2 separate regions of the Homo sapiens genome follow, and region 1 is linked to region 2. The links are contacts of gene promoters, found by promoter capture Hi-C in blood cells and fetal thymus (Javierre and others, 2016). All regions are on one chromosome and are shown on one strand. The core of a region is centred on a gene start or on the middle of the fragment in contact, and the rest is flanking DNA. Distances in the headings are between cores, read along the strand shown.

Region 1 (2,700 bases), core at 13-2,512, 400 kb before region 2:
GACTATCCTGGCTAACACGGTGAAACCCCATCTCTACTAAAAAAATGAAAAAAAAAATTAGCCGGGCGTGGTGGCAGGCGCCTGTAGTCCCAGCTACTAGGGAGGCTGAGGCAGGAGAGTGGCGTGAACCCGAGAGCAGAGCTTGCAGTGAGCCGAGATCATGCCACTGCACTCCAGCCTGGGTGACAGAGCGAGACTCTGACACACACACAAAAAAAAATGTAGGAAGCATTGTCAAATCTGAGATGTTGTTTAGCTCCCTTTGGTTATGTTTATATAGATGTGTTGTCAATGTGTTCCAGGATTATATTAGATTCTTATAATTCTGATATGTCTTAATATGTTGTCAGTAATAATTATGATTTTCATGTTAAATTGTTGTATCCCACAGAAATAACCAAATTTCCTTGTCAACAGTGTCTTTAACTGTGGTTGTCCTAAGACTTTTGTCATCCACAATTGTTGTTTTGTGTTGATTCTTCACAAAAAGTGACTTATAATCAGCTACTGTCCAGGGCTTGTTTCTTTGGGGGGAGTTCATGAAAAGGACTCTTGAATACAAGTTTCTGATAACTTCGGAGATTGTGCCATTGGATGTGAGAGAAAACTTCCAGTGCACTAATGGAAACACTGATGTGTTCACAAAGATGGCTAACTCAACATGAAGCAGAGCAGGAGTTGTCTGCATGGACGGAACTAATGGAGGACTGAAATAACTTTTATGGCTTTTTTGTTTGAAATATTGCTCATTCTTTTTGTTTTTCAGAGTCTGAAGAATTTTTTTCTTTTGAGTCATCCTTTAAGTATCTTTTAAGTATAGTGAGTAGAGTATACTTTTGTAAACAGAATTTGAGGCATATTTCTCTAATTTATCCAGAATTTATAAACTATTTGTGAGTATTCTTAATTCATGGCAATGTGTTTGTTTGCATACAGTTAATAACAACATGTTTTCTTTGGTAATGGGACACAGTTGAAGGAACTGGTTGTTTTCCCAGGGCTTTGACTAAAATGGCCTTGAGAGAGGTTCTAGCAAAGCCAATTTAGGAGAGCCTATGAGAACAGTGATTCTTGTTCCATTTTGTGTGGGTAATCAGGCCAAGTATATGGGACTGAAGCTTATTTTGCAGGTAGATTGGTCCTGCTGTGATGTCTTTGTGAAAGTGGTAGACTGGAGAAAAAGATTGTGTTTCAGAAGAAAAACTTTAGTATTAGATTAGCCTTTGATTCCTGGATGGTCATGAGGTCTTCCATGGTATGGAGCTGCCCACAATGCCTCTCCTCAGCAGGAAGGAGACAGAAAGATGGATGACCAGATGCCCCATGGTTGAGGAATCTATAAACAAGGGGAGACTGAAACCCACTCAATTTTTTCAGTAAACATAGAAATTGATACTTTTTGCCTTAAAGCTTGAAATTTCTATTGGTTTTATCTGAGTTCTTTCCTCAGGAAATTACTTCAGGCATCTCAAAAAAAAAAGTGTTGAAGAACTGAAACTTACCAGATCATCACATCCATACAATGAGACTCCAGGCCCCTCATTCACCATGATTGCTTCCTTGCCCCCCCCTAGTTCCTGTTTTCCTACACAGTGCTACATTTCTTTCCTGCTATATAAACCCCTGATTTTAGGTGGTCAGGGAGATGGATTTGAGACTGAACTCCCATCTCCTTGGCTGCAGCAGCCGATTAAAGCCTTCTTCCTTGGCTGTACTCATCATTTCAGTCATTGGCTTTCACTGCTGTGAGCAGCAGCACCTAGACCAAACTCTTGGTGTTTTGGTAACAAAACCACATTATGAGGAAGGTATTATTATGTCTCCATATCCCAGATGAGGAAACAGATTGAGTGAGTTACCCAGCTATGAAGGCTGAGCCAGATCTGACTGCAAAGCTCACAGTCTGGGCCGCTGAGCCACACTGGACCCCTCTGCACTGCTCACTTATTTTCACACTGTGCTGCCTGCTTTCTATCTACAGTATGACTCCATGTATAATGCAGCTTCCTGAGGAATAAAGGGCATGGCTAACATTTCTTTCAGAAATCTCAGTGCCAGCCTATAGTGAACTCCCAAGGGGATTTCTGGCAGGGTCTTTGGCTCCCACCTATTCCTGAAGGTCTGAGGATCTGAAGAGCTAAAGATGGGGAAGAATGGGGCAGACATGGAAGATCAGGTAAGATTAGCTTAAGGAGGTGAGTCTACCTCATCTCCAGCCAACAGAAATTCTAGCACACTGGAGGCAAAGAACAGAGAGCAGTGAGGAAATAGAAAGGCCAGGGATTGCTTCCTTATGGGATGGCTGTGTTGTGCTGTCTGCTTTGACGTTGACATTGCTGTTGTTTCTAGGCCCTGATTATGCAGAGGCAGAGGGCTGAGCCAGACTCCACCCGACTCCAGCCCCAGGGATCACTCTAACTCCAGACGGGCAGGTTAAGTTGAGGCTGCACAAAAATCTTTAATTAAGTTACTGCAATGCAAAAGAGTCAGAAGACAGCCCAACCACACAGTCCATGTGGCACGGTGATAGTGTGTGGACACTAACAATCATGGCAGGTGTTTCTGAAGTTGGGAAGAGGGCAGAACACTCAAGTTTTCATTAAGAAGAGTAGCTCCAGACTTCCGTTTGACAGCACAATGTTTTAAAAATCTGGCATGCCTATCTCCAAAGACTACCTCCAGTTTGCCCAGGTCTCCACC
Region 2 (2,700 bases), core at 127-2,626:
GTGGCATACTCCTTCCAGAATCCAATGAAAACGGAGCCCCTAGCTCCTAGGAAAATTTCAGGAATTTTACAAAACGCTCTATGTCAGGGATTTTTAAGAATCTTTTATTAAGGGGAATACTAGCTAGTTACTTCTGCTTAATTTGCAAAAGTGTGAAAACCTTCACTAGTCTGTTTTGTGACAAAACGTACATTAAGTTAATATTCATAATGAAGCAAGTAAATCCTGCTTTTATTAGACTTCTCGATTTCTAAAGAAACAAAAATATCTGGTGTAAAATATTAGAACTACAAACTACGCTAGAATTAGTTCGAATATTCTCAAATGTGATGCTCAAACACCCTAACACCAAACCAAAAGGAAAAAAGTCCAAAAAGGTAACAAAGCTGGCTGTATCCAATTCTTAGAAAGTCTGAATCAATCCAGGTATCAAATGAACCTCTAACTTCCCAAAACATCTACAAACACCGAAGTCATAATTTGCAAAAACAAAGCTGAGCCAGCAAATAGAAACACTGTTTACTAACTGAACGTAGTTTATCCTTACTTCTCCTCCTTGCATGTAATACTTTTATCCTTTGACTCGGCCTTCTCAAATTCCCTTAGTAAACAATCTCATCAAACTGCTTATTGTAGTGTAAGCATGAAGTCAAAGAGTAGCATAGACTCAGTTCTCCAAATCGCGGGAGCTTTAAGGAGCTTAGCACTAGACCAAGTTTTGCCCCAATGACCTTGGTCTCAACGATTCCCCTCCCTCCCTCCAGCCGGCCCGGCCCTTCCACGTGCTGCCGGCTGCAATTACTCCAGAGGTGGCTGCATGTCAGGGAAGCGCTAGAGGATGCGAATGCACAGGAAACAAGGGTTGCTAACAGCACCCAGGCTGTGCCATCCAATCCCTCCCGACACCAACTCCCCAAGAGCGCTCACACAGCCCTACAAATTTCCCCTACCGAAGCCCTGCGGGGATAACCCCAACTCCTTCCCGGCGCCTTGCTCTGCGACCCAGTCTGTGGGGCAGGGTGTAAGGTGAAGAAATTCTCTTTGCTACACCACTATATTCCCACGCCCGACTGGGGTGCTGGGCAGCCAGGGGAAGGGGACAGCTCCTGGAAGGAGGGGACGACGGCAGGAGGAAAGTAGGCTGAAGAATCCTGCGCCACGCCACCGCCACCTCCTCCTCCACTTCCAGGCTCCCTGCAGGCCCTTGCCAGTCGCCAGCCCAGCGAGCAGCAAGGCCTGGAGTGGCAGGGCCGACCGGGGGCCCGCGAATCCCGGGGTCTGAGGGGCGCGGCGTCCTCACCATCAGAACTTTAGCCGCGTTCTCCAGCTGAGCGATCACTTCTGGGGGCCCCAGCGCCGCCGCCATCATGGTCTCTCTTCAATGACGCGCCATGCGCTGCATTCTGGGAGCGGGCGCCGCGGCCGGCCAATCGCCGCCGCGACCCCGGAGCCTCACGCGCTCCCAGGGCCGTCGCAGCCGCTGTCGACACCGGCGTCGCGGCCTCGGCGGGTCTGGCCGGGCTGCCGGGTTCCGGGTGGCTGGGAGGGGACTAGTGTGAGCCCGGCCGCCGCGCTGGGGCGGGGGCGGCCGCAGCCGGCACCGGGCGAGGCCGAGGCGGTCTGCCCAGACTGCTGCAGCCGCGCGCCCCGCTAAGCTCCCAGCCCCGCGCATGCGTGGTGTCCGGCGCCCCGGCCTCGCGGTGCCCCCGGCCCTCTCCCCACTACCCTAGTACAGCCCGCCCGGGGACCCGCAGATCCACGACGCCAGTTCGCTCCCTCCGTTCTCAGCCCTGCACACCGCCTCCCCTGGCTCCTCCTTGCCCTTCCACGCTCCAGCGCCGTGCAGGATTTCCTAAACTTGGAATCGCTCTTCCCGCTTTCCCCTCCTCAGAGCGCACCTCCTTTCAAAGTATCTCTGTCTCCTGCTTCTCTGTTCCTTCTTGCCATGGGAGAACATTCCAGGATAGAACGCTTCGTTTTCTTTCTTTCTTTTTTTTTTTTTTTGGAGACAGGGTCTCACTCTATCGCCCAGGATGGAGTGCAATGGCCCTATTTCGGCTCACTGCAACCTCCGTCTCCCGGGTTCAAGCGATTCCCCTGCCTCAGCCTCCTGAGTATCTGGGATTACAGGCGCCCGCCACCACGCCCGGCTAATTTTTGTACTTTTAGTAGAGACGAAGTTTCACCATGTTGGCCAGGCTGGTCTCGAACTCCTGACCTCAGGTGATCCGCCCGCCTCGGTCTCCCAAAGTTCTGGGATTACAGGCGTGAGCCACCGCCCCCGGCCGAACGCTTCGTTTTCATAATGGAGGGCTTTGGCCTTCTGCAGGACAATCATCCAAATGTATCTGGGCAGCGGGTCGCTAGGAGACCCTAGGAGGAAAACCCGTCTTTGGCTCTTGCCGTTTTCACTCTTTAAGGGCTGGCTCACATAGGAGAGGGAGAAAGCAGGGACAGGAAAGCCTGACCTTGACTACCTGGCTTCTCAAATGCAGTAAGATGAGCTTTGTCGGCCAGGCGCTGTGGCTCATGCCTGTAATCCCAGCACTTTGGGAGGCCAAGGCAGGCCTCATTTTAGCTCAGGAGTTCGAGACCAGCCTGGGCAACATCGTGAGACCCTGTCTCTACCAAAAAAAAAAAAAAAAAAAGCCCGGTGTGGTGTCTTGCGCCTGTGGTCCGAGCTTCTCGGGAGGCTGAAGC

Evidence for each region. The method cuts DNA at HindIII sites, captures the fragments that hold promoters and counts their contacts. A CHiCAGO score of 5 or more calls a contact.
Region 1: a contact is called between a fragment that was not itself captured here and the fragment with the promoter of XPO4 in region 2, in 1 of 17 cell types (endothelial precursors). The highest score is 7.2, in endothelial precursors.

Annotation. Positions count from the first base shown.
Region 1 is chr13:20,499,447-20,502,146 of GRCh38, forward strand. The region is part of intron 2 of CRYL1 (crystallin lambda 1); the gene reads right to left. Among named protein-coding and RNA genes, the nearest start is that of CRYL1, 25 kb to the right of the region's middle. RefSeq lists an enhancer at 2,512-2,700. The HindIII fragment of the contact is 292 bases long and covers 1,117-1,408 here.
Region 2 is chr13:20,901,370-20,904,069 of GRCh38, forward strand. XPO4 (exportin 4) reads right to left here and starts at 1,377. Exons shown (of 23, transcript NM_022459.5): 1 at 1,301-1,377. The coding sequence starts at 1,369. RefSeq lists an enhancer at 1,140-1,189 and a silencer at 1,400-1,779. The HindIII fragment of the contact is 36,571 bases long and covers 1-2,700 here.